2 separate regions of the Homo sapiens genome follow, and region 2 is linked to region 1. The links are contacts of gene promoters, found by promoter capture Hi-C in blood cells and fetal thymus (Javierre and others, 2016). All regions are on one chromosome and are shown on one strand. The core of a region is centred on a gene start or on the middle of the fragment in contact, and the rest is flanking DNA. Distances in the headings are between cores, read along the strand shown.

What was found. Contacts are between HindIII fragments. The CHiCAGO score rates a contact against its expected background, and 5 or more counts as called.
Region 2: a fragment that was not itself captured here is called in contact with the fragment with the promoter of EYA2 in region 1 in 1 of 17 cell types (M2 macrophages); the score reaches 5.0 in M2 macrophages.

Annotation. Positions count from the first base shown.
Region 1 is chr20:46,891,767-46,897,352 of GRCh38, forward strand. EYA2 (EYA transcriptional coactivator and phosphatase 2) reads left to right here and starts at 3,077. Exons shown (of 16, transcript NM_005244.5): 1 at 3,077-3,221. The HindIII fragment of the contact is 20,535 bases long and covers 1-5,586 here.
Region 2 is chr20:47,155,938-47,161,523 of GRCh38, forward strand. The region is part of intron 10 of EYA2 (EYA transcriptional coactivator and phosphatase 2); the gene reads left to right. It also overlaps the pseudogene RPS2P54. Among named protein-coding and RNA genes, the nearest start is that of MIR3616, 8.2 kb to the right of the region's middle. The HindIII fragment of the contact is 3,283 bases long and covers 1,583-4,865 here.

The sequences.
Region 1 (5,586 bases), core at 1,827-4,326:
CCAGAGTTGAGAATCACAGCGCTAAGAGAAGGAAAAATAAAATTAATAAGCACCTGCCTCCTGCTTATCTCTCAGGGTCGTTGGGGTGTGTCTGTAATTTATGAAATAATGGGCCAGATTCTGGGGAAGGAATAAAATGGTATGAAGGAAATAGATTAACCCTTTGCATTCTATAGGGTACCTTTGGTTAACAAGTGTTCAAGATTTTTCCCCATGAGCCACAGGAAGAAACATTTCACATCCTGACCAAAGATATAGATATAGATATGGATATAGATATAGATACAGATACATGTGTGTATATATATATGTATGTATGTATACGTATATATGATATACGTATACATATATACATATATATCTCTCCATTGTAAATTGAAAATATCCTAAGTTCAAAATGCATTTAATACGCCTAACCTACTGAACATCATAGCTCAGCCTAACCTACCTTAAATGCACTCAGAACACTTGCATTACCTCGCAGTTGGGCAAAATCATCTAATACAAAGCCTATTTTATAATACAGTTTTGAATATCTCATGAAATTTATCAAATATTTTGCTGAAAGTGAAAAATAGAATGGTTGTATGGGTATCTCAATTGTGGTTTCTACTGAATACACATCACTTTCACATCGTCATAAAGTCAAAAAAATCATTAAGTGAAACCATCATAAATTGGGGACCATATGTATACATTTAACTATATATAGGGGATCATATGTATATATGTAACTATATATGTATAGGTATGTATATATATTCTTACTGCATACAATTCACTTGATATTTCCTATTCCAGTCTATTCCTTTAGGAAAAAAAAATTAAGGTTCACAGGCCAAGACAAATTAAACACCTCTGAAGGTCATTAAGATGCTCAATTTATAATGACTTGGAGCACTTAGCAAAGATACTATGGGAAGTGAAGCTGTGTGTACAGTAATAATATTTGTTGAGCAATTGCTAGTGCCAGCTGCAGTCATAGTAGAAAGTGTTTTATGAGCATGAGCTCCATGAATTTTCACAATAATAGTATAAGATGAGTACTGTTATTTTCACTTTAGTGATGAGAAAATCAAGGCCAAGTACATATGTACATTCTGCCTCTAGAAGACAGAAGCAGAGCCATCTCCAAGCCTACTGCGGCAGGCCCAGAGAAGAGAACAACCATGTTTACTGAATACATTTGCTTCTGTCTGAAGTTTGGGGAGTAGAAAGCGGAGTAAGCTATGACCAGAGGTGGGTCTGGGAATGGTGAGGCCTGATACATGTATAATTTGCAGCCCCTATTCAAGAAAAAGAGTACAAAATTATGAGTCCAAGATTAGATAAGAAAATGATTATTTCTTTAAATTAAGAAAAGAAATCACAACAAATTCAAATTTTAAGAAGCTGAAAATTACCACAAACATCACAAAATTCCCAACTCAACTTTCCTCCAAAATGCCAGCAGCCACCTGACACCACCCTACTCAAGGGCAAGTTGGGGGTGGGGAATCGGAGTGGAAAGACAGCGGTGTCTACGGCCTGCAGCCAAATGTCCAAAGCAAAGGACTTTTGTAAACTTTACATCAACAAGCCACCATCTGAACACTTTTCTAAGTCCCCTTAGAAAGGGGTCCAAGCAAGTCAGGGGCCCAAGAACTTAACCTTCATCAGCTCCTGTAAACTTACAACTGGAATTGAAGACTGTTACGGCTCAAGAGCAACGGCTTTGGAGTCAGCCAGGCCTGAATTTCATTCCTGGCTCAGCCACTTTCTGCCTTCTTTGAGCTTGGACCTGCTCATTTGTGAAATGAGTGTGCTGACAGCAGCTACCTTGGGGTCTCTCTTGGGGATTACATGAGATAAGGAAGAGTTGGGCATTGGATGAGCTTAAGGTTGCAAATAAAAATATAGGACCCCCGGTTACATTGGAATTTCGGAGACAAAAGAAATACTTTTTAAATATAAGTACGTACAACCAATCGCATAAGACATATACTGCAACTGATTCCTCGTTTCTCTGAAATTCAAATTCACCTGGGTGCCCTGTCTTTTACTGCACTTAAGAAATGACAGTGGTTGATATTGCTTTTGGATTGAAGCATCCTGGGTGTCCCACGGTGGAATTCATAGACATTAGAGAGTGGGTGACGGGCTAGGAAAGGCTGCATAGACTCCAATTAACACAGTTCATTGCCAGGGAGACTAAAAGGGGGGTGGCTATGAGAGGATGGAGTAAGTGGGGTGCCTTGATTTGGGCATGTAGGTGGAGGGGGCTATACCTCTCACTTTCACTAAACCAGTTAAGCTCTTGAGACCTCAGTTTCCTTAGCTGTAAAATGGGTGAAACATAGGGGAGACCCCTGAACCGTTCTCACCTAAATACCACACCAATGGCACTTCCTCATAATTCAGATGTCACCTCCTCAGAGAGGTCTTCCCTGACTGCTCTAGCTAAAATTACCGCCTCTCCTCCACTCCCCAACAGCAGATACATATATTATTTTTCTCCCTGTAACTCTAACTTTCTGAAACTGTCTTGCTTCTTTACTTGGTTATTTGTTTATGGTTTGCCTCTCCATGTGAATGCAAGTTCCGGGAGGGCAGAAAACTAGTCTGTCTTGTTCTAGCTGAGTCTCTCAGGAGTGGTACCTGGCACAGTAGATGCTCAATATATTTTGAATGAATGAATGGGTGGTTGAGTGAACGAATGTTAGTGTCACTATTGAGGTCCTCTCCGAGCCGTCGTTCCTTTCACAGGGGTCATGCCTGGGTTGCAGGGAGGATGTGCTGCCCCGGGGAGGGAGGAGGTGCGGGGTGTCGGTGGGTGGGGAGGAGGCTGGGCCCTGGCCTCCAGGACCGGCGAGAGTGAGCGCGCTCTGCTCGGCTGCAGGCTCAGGAAGCGGCGCGGCGGCACGTGCTGGGCCAGAGCCCCGCGCCCTGCGTCCAGCCGCCGGGTGTGTGCGCCCGCGTAGCCCAGCGTCGCGCCTCGGCGCCCCCACGCGCCCACGCAGCGGCGCGGGGACCCGGGCGGGGGCAGAGGGAGGGCCCGGCCCAGGGAGGAGAAGGGGCCGGTCCTCCCGGCGCAGGCAGCAGCCGCGGCAGCCCAGGAGGCGGAGGCAGCGGCAACGGCAGAGACAGCAACGTGCCCGCCGCAGTCAGCCCGGCCTCGTCGGACCCGCACCGGCCCGCCCGCCCGCCCGCACCGCGTCGGGGCGCCCTCTCCACTGCGCGCGGTGAGTACCGCCAGCGGCGCCCACCCCAGGCCGCCCGCCGGGATTCGCCGGGCGGGGGGAGTTGTTCACCGGGACCCCCTCGCCCTGCGCCTCTTTCTGGCACTCGCCAAGCGGGGCCTCCGCAGCTGTCGGGACGTTCTGGGGCGCACGGGCCTCCCAGGGCCAGGAAGGCACAAGGGCAGAGGGGACAGCAGCAGAGCCCCCCTCTGGAAAGGCTCTCCCAGGCTCGGGGCCCCAGTTTCCCCATGCGCTTTGGGGCAACGACCCTGAAGTTTGCTCTCCCGCGCGCGGGACAAGTGCATGGCGCGCAGGCGGTGTAGACGCGGCTGGGTCCTTGGCGTTTTGTTCGATTATGGTCCCGGCGGTTCGCGATAAGGGGCGCTCCCCCAGTCCGCAAACTCAAGCCCTCAGGTAGTGTTTATGGGATAACCAAGAAGCAGAGCCAACCGCTGGAATCCCGGCTTGGGGCTGGAACGGCCCGCTGAGACTTTGCCTTCTAGCTATTGATATATTTCTTTTCAAAAGTCCGTTTGCGCTCGGCCCGCTCTGGTTCAGGTCTGGGGCTTTGAACCGGGGCAGGGAATCCTGGCGCCTGCTGCGGGTAGAGTTGAAACTTAGAAAAGTTTACATCCGAAGGGTGTTTAGAAGGCGGCAAGGATTTCGTTGTAATGGGAGAAAGTGGGAAATGGAATTGTTTTTTAGTCATGAAGTCTGGAGGTTAAACGGCCGTGCTGGCCCAGGCTCCTTCAATATATTCCTGCCTGCCTCCCCCCCAGCAATAAATAGTTTATAAGCTCAAGGAATACTAGGAAAGCGTGACTGGTGAACGTACTCCTATCGCAAAAGACTCAGTGCGCTTTTCTCAGCTGTTGAACTGGAAGCGCCTTTTGCAGTGCGAGGTTCCTGCTTCCCCGAAGCCGAGGCTGAGAGTTGACAGCGTGCACCCTGCCGCGGTCTGAATTCTTTTTAAAAAGCAAGACCGATGCTGCGTTTTTATGGATACCCTTTTCTTTTCTTTCCCCTTCCCCGAAATGCTATGTAATCTTCAATTACTTTTTAAAATATAACGTGGAGGTATAAATCACCCCGGTAAGAGGTACCTTTTAATTACGAGGTGCAGTGGAAGAGCTGAACATTGGAATCTAGCTGTTAGCGAGGGCGGAGGGGCAGGAGGATGATTTACAAACATCATGTAAGAATTTGAGCACTGAATTATGTTTGAGTTAGGGAGATCCCTTACAAAGGAAATTATAACCAGTGGACAATTGTATTTCAAACCGAATCTATTAATTTCATGAGCCGTTTCTTGATTGAGTGAAATGTCTGTGACCATAATAGATACAGAACTAGTAAGCACCTTACCAGACTATGACCCATTTGTTAGCAACTAACATACACATGTAACCATCCTGCTTACAAAAAAAAAAAGAGGTACACAAAGAAAGAGTGGGAGGAGAGAACCTCTTTTTCAAAATAATCTTTGTGAAAGAATCTTTCACAATTTTACTCGATAAATAAATGTTCATTTTTTCCACTTGTCTTTCTTCATCACCTTAAGCCCCTTCATCCTTTACATATCTTTGCATTTAGACACTCTCACACTTGGGTAAGTTCTTCTATAATTTATATAACAAATAACAAATGATAGTGGTTTGAATCTTGCTTTTGACTAAGCATTAAATTGTGTTTGTATTAAAAAAAATCTCCTTGCCTTCGTAGCAAACTCTTAACTTTTGCCATTGTGAAAAGACCAATGTGGTTAGATGCAAAAGAGCCTGAACTTTTTTTTACTTTAAAGCAGTTTATATGTCCCCATTCTCTTGTAACTTCAGCTTCACAATATCATTCACTATTTTATCTGAAAGGAATTGGCATTTTTCTTTTCTGTCTTAAAATAGCTCACCTGGTGTTGTGACCATGTGTATGAGAATACTCTATAAACACACAAATCACTTCCCCAATATCAGAAAAACTAAAGGAAATATAAAATAAAATAAAAAGATGTGTATCTCAATACTTTAGGATTTTTTTAAAAAGTTTTCATCACGTAAGTTTTAGAATCTTCTTTTCATGTCTTTTGTTTTGCATTAAACACATCATAAAGAGGTATGATTTGTTGACTTGTTATAGGATTACCATTTGGCAAAAACGCCCAAGACACGCTGTTTCAAATATGTGGTATTACTTCTGCTTTAAATTGCGTGTAAGAGATTGCAAACCTTGTTCCAGATGGATAAATTGATAAAATGCTAGCTGCTGTTGGGAGAATGGAAAAGCCCTCAGCAAAAAGGCTCTGTGGTGTAGCTAAGTACATTTTGAATTAGGGTGAGCAAGCTATGGAGACCCCAGCCGTTTGTGAAAAAAT
Region 2 (5,586 bases), core at 1,974-4,473, 260 kb after region 1:
AGACCAAGGTGGGCAGGTCACTTGAGGTCAGGAGTTCAAGACCAGCCCAGCCAATGTGGCGAAATCCCGTCTCTACTTAAATATATATATATATACATACACACACACACACACATATATATACATACACACACACACACATATATATACATACACACACACACACACACACACACACACACACACACACATATATATATATATATATATATATATATATATATATATATATATATATATATATATATTAGCCGGGCATGGTGGTGCATGCCTGTAGTCCCAGCTACTCGGGAGGCTAAGGCAGGAGAATTGCCTGAGCCCGGGAGACAGAGGTTGCAGTGAGCCAAGATAGCACCACTGCACTCCAGCCTGGGCAACAGAGCAAGACTCCATCTCAAAAAATAAAAAAATAAGGAAAGAGCCTTTCAGGAGAAACAAGGTAACGCTAAAGATCTTTGGCAAAAGGTATCCCTAGCCTGACGCAGGAATGGCCAGGCATTCGGGCAGGCTGGAAGGGGAGCATTTCAAGATGCAGCCAGGGCTTTAGGAAAGACCATGCCGGAGAGACTCAGAAGTTGCTGAAATCAGGGCAGCCATGGCTGCTTGCCTGACACATGAGCCTGGTTGCTAAACGTGTGATTTATCCTGATAGCTTTAGGAGCCATCAGGAAAATAATATGTCACTGTGTTAACACTGAACTCTCTCCAAAGCATCCTGCCCAATGGTCATTAATACAATTCAGGCCACAGCCTCTTTAGCGCTCTTAAGATAAGTTAAACACTTAGCACAAGAGATGTGGCCCAGGTTTCCCTCCCAGGGAGTAGACTCCTCTCTGGCTAGTCTGGAGGCAGCATTAAGCAATCTCACTTGAAAAATATACCTGCCTCAGAGGAGAAGGAGCAGCCAGGAAGTTCATCGGGGCCCTGATGAGCATCATTTTTCTAACGCAAATTTGTCAACAATTTCTGCATTCATGTCTCCAAGCAGCCAAAGACAAAAAGTAATGGAATCAAACCACAGCAGGAGAGTTTGAGAAACCCCAGCTGTCACCAGCTCAATCAGAACAGGTTTTGATAAGTATTTGTCACTGAGTTTACTGATCAGCAACGTGCAACAACAGTAATACTAAGTATCGGCTGGGGATGGTGGCTCATGCCTGTAATTCCAGCATTTTGGGAAGCTGAGGAGGGCAGATCACTTGAGGTCAGGAGTTCGAGACCAGACTGGCCAAGATGGTGAAACCTCATCTCTACTAAAAATACAAAAATTAGCCAGGCATAGTGGTGCACGCTGTAGTCCCAGCTACTCAGGAGGCTGAGGCAGAACAATCACTTGAACCCAGGAGGCGGAGGTTGCAGTGAGCCGAGATTGCACAACTGCACTCCAGCCTTGGTGACAGAGCAAGACTCCGTCTCAAAAAAAAAAAAAAAAAAAAAAAAAAAGAGTACTAAGTATCATACCTGTGGGATGCAGAAGGGCAGTCCAGATTGGCATTTACAGTCCTAAATGACATTTGTTAGAAAAACAGGAAAATTCATAAGAATAATTGGAAAGACCGTTAAAATAGATAAGGCTTTAGCAAGCTTAATCAAAGGGGAAAAGAGAGAGATCAATAAACAACATCCAGAATGAAAGGGTGGACATTACTAAAATCCAGGGGAGGTTGTTTCTTTTAATTACAAGAATGCCAGGCACACTGTTTTACCAATGAATTTGAAAATCTAGGTGAGATTGACACTTTTCAGGAAGACACAAATTACTGAAATTAGCCCAAGTGGAAATAAAAATAAATACAACAAACCAAAGATCATGAAAATTTGTTAAATCATTAAAGAGAAAGTGCGTTTTTGGTGCCCCCACCAAAAAAGGCACCAGGTCCCACTGGTTTTAAACAAGAGTTCCAACAAAACTTCAAGGAAAGGATAAATCTCATCCAGCATAAACTACAGAGCAAAGAAAAAGATGGAATGCTCTCCCACACATTTTATAAGACTAACATCACCCTAAAGCTGACACTGGAGTTACAGCGCATATGACAAATGGACAAATTGCGGTCGTCGCTGCTGAAGTTGGAAGGCCCCTGCGATCCCAGCACCTACCTTCATCCATGCCCTGTGACTCTTTACAGAAGTTTTCTGCAGATCCTGTCTGAGCTTTAGTTTCCACACTGGTGAAAAGAGGGGTCTGGACTATAATTGGTATCATTTATTTGACACCTGCCCCTTGCCTCGTAACACACCTGCAAGCAGATAGAATAACCATATTTTGTAATTTTTTAAAAAACACTGAAGACTGTCTGGGTGCAGTGGCTCACGCCTGTAATTTCAGCACTTTGGAAGGCCCAGGTGGGTGGGATTACCTGAGGTCAGGAGTTTGAGACCAGCCTGGTCAACATGATGAAACCCCATCTCTACTAAAAATACAAAAAATTAGCCAGATGTGGTGGCAGGCATTTGTAATGCCGGCTACTTGGGAGACTGAGGCAGGAGAATCGCTTGAACCCAGGAGATGGAGGTTGCAGTGAGCCGAGATCACCCCACTGCACTCCAGCCTGGGTGACAAGAGTGAAACTCTGTCTCAAAAAAAAAAAAAGGAAACTGAAGACCTTGCTGTGTTACCTGAGCCCAGGAACGATGACACCCTTGTAGCAATGAGGATACTCAGATAACAGTTTCTAATACCACGCTGCAAGAAAAAGGAACCAGAGCTCCATGGAGAAATGGCTGATTCTAGGGCTGGGCCAAGAACTATATGATTATCCCAGAGCATCTTTTAGCACCGTAAAGTAAGGAATTGCTCAGGAAAACCCAAAGTGATACGTTATGCCAGAGGAACACAGGATCCAACTGAAAAGAGTTCCCAATGGCCAAATCCAGAAAGATAAAAAGAACAACAAAATAAAACAAAAGCTGGAGTAATAAAATAAATAATATAATATCAGATCCCAATGGCCAAATCTGGAACAATAAATAAAAAGGAGAGCAAAATAAAATAAAAGCTGGAATAATAAAATAAATAATGTAATATCAGATTCTAACCCAAAGTATAAAATAAGTATGTATGAGTCTATGCTGATGTAGATAAATGATTGCATAAATAAATAAGTGGGGAGACTAAACAAATCTCCCACACAGAAAAATTCCAGGTAACTTATGTAGATACTACACCCATAGTGTGAGCCACGCATAGTGACTTCTTTCCAAAGAGTACAATATAGATGAGGGGAATAGTAACTTCGGAGTGGAGAACCCTGATGAAGACCACCTGAGCCAGGTGATCAAGGTCAACATCAACAGTGATTAGTCATGTTGATAATATTTACCCTTGATGTGATATGAAGAGAATGGCACTCCCCATCTGTGACCTTCCCAAAACCCAGGAACCCGGTGTCATCATGAGAAAAACATCGGAAAAATCCCAGTTGACAAACATTTTACAAAATACCTGACCAGTTCTCCTTCACACCGTCCTCAAAAGCAAGGAAAGCCTGAGAAACTGTCACAAACCAGAGAAGCCTAAGGAGACAGGACAACTACGTGTCATGTGATATCCACCTTGGATCCTGAAACAGTCCAAGAACAGTACAGGGAAAGCCTTAAAAATCTGAATAAGTAATTGACAGTAGTTAACACAGCACTATCTGCTTATTAGTTTTGACAAATGCAGCATACTAATGTAAGAAGTTAACAAAAGGAGAAAGTGGGTGTGGGGTGTATGGGAACTCTCTGTACTATCTTTGCAACTTTTCTGTAAATCTAAAACTATTCCAGGCCAGCCACGGTGGCTCATGCCTGGAATCCCAGCACTTTGGGAGGCCAAGGTGGGCGGATCACTTGTGGTCAGGAGTTCGAGACCAGTCTGGCCAACATGGTGAAACCCTGTCTCTACTAAAAATACAAAAATTAGCCAGGCATGGTGGCGCATGCCTGTAATCCCAGCTACTTGGGAGGCTGAGGCAGGAGAATCACTGACCTGAGAGGCGGAGGCTGCAGTGAGCTGCAGGAAGCCACTGTGTGGGCAGTGTAGTGAGGAGAGGGTAGGAGATGAGGTCAGGGAGGTGATGAACCTGAGGGTGGGCAGACCACATGGAGCCAGGTTCCACTGTGAGGACTGTGCTTTTATTTGGAGGGAGGTGATATCCATTGTGGGGATTTGAGCAGGAGCGGGACGTGATCTGACTTAGGGTTGAACAGGATCCCTCTGGCTGCTGGCTGGAGACTAGGCTGGGAGGATAGGGGCTAGATAAGGATAGGAGCAGGAAGAGTGAGGAGGTGACTGTAGTAGCCTACACCAGGGGTCAACAAACTTCTGTAAAGGACCAGATAGTAAATATTTTTGGCTTTGCACATCATAGTGGACCTGTCTCAGCTACTCAGTTCTCCTGCAGTAGCACAAAAGCTGCAGCAGACAGGATGTAATTGCATGAACATAGATGTGTTCTAATAAAACTTTATTTACACAAACAGGCGACAGGCCAGATTTGGCCCCTGGGTTATAGCTTACTAACCTCTGATCTAGGTGGGAGATGATGGTGGTTTGGACCACGGTGGGGCGGGGGGCGGTGCGGGCAGTGGAGGAGGTGAGAATGGTCAGATTGTGGGTATATGTCGAAGGGAAAGCCAACAGGATTTGGTGATGGATGGGTGGCAGGATGTCAGAGAGAGGAGACGGGGATAACTCCAAGACACATGCAGTGCCTAGGCCAGTGTTGGGAACATAGAAGGTGATCAGTGTGTACGCATCTTGAATCAGCAATTTGGTATTTCATGCCTCTTTGCCTTGTCTTTTCCAGTGACATGATAGGCACTGTGAGGGCAAGAGCCAGATTTCATCCTTGAAGCCTCCCCTCTCTTTTTTTTTTTCAAGCTTAATTCACTTTATTTTTCTTGTATAAAAACCCTATGTTGTAGCCACAGCTGGAGCCTGAGTCCTCTGCACAGAGACTCTGATGGGGTCTTGACAAGGTAGTCAGTGAATTCCTGACCTGAATTCCTGAATTCTAGGGAGACTTGGTGAATACAGTCTCCTTCCAGAGGTTGGGGGTCGGGTAGCTGTAGGTCTTAGAGATAGCATCAAAGGTGGCCTTGGCGAAGTTTCCCAGGGTGGCAGTGCAGCTGCGGCGTAGCAGTCATAGATACCCGCCATCAGCAGCAGCTTTTGGGCATGGGGACCGAGATGATGCCAGTGCCCCTGGGTGCAGGGATGAAGTGCACCAGCACAGAGCCACAGTGGCCTGTCACCTTACAAGGGACGGTGTGGGGCTTGCCGATCTTGCTCCCCCAGTAGCCTCTGCACATGGGGACAATGGAGAGCTAGCCCAGGATGATGGCCCCGCGGATGGCGTGGCCACCTCCTTGGAGCACTTAACACCCAGATCGACATACCATTATAGTCACCGATGACAATAAATCCCTTGAGCCTGGTGCGCTGGCTGGCGTGGGTCTGCTTTTGTACTGGCATGATCTTCAAAACCTCATCCTTGAGAGAAGCCCCCAGGAAAAAGTCAATGATCTCAAACTCTTTGATGGCCAGGAAGAAGAGATAGATCTCCTCCAGGAACTTGATCTTCATGTCCTTGACCAGGT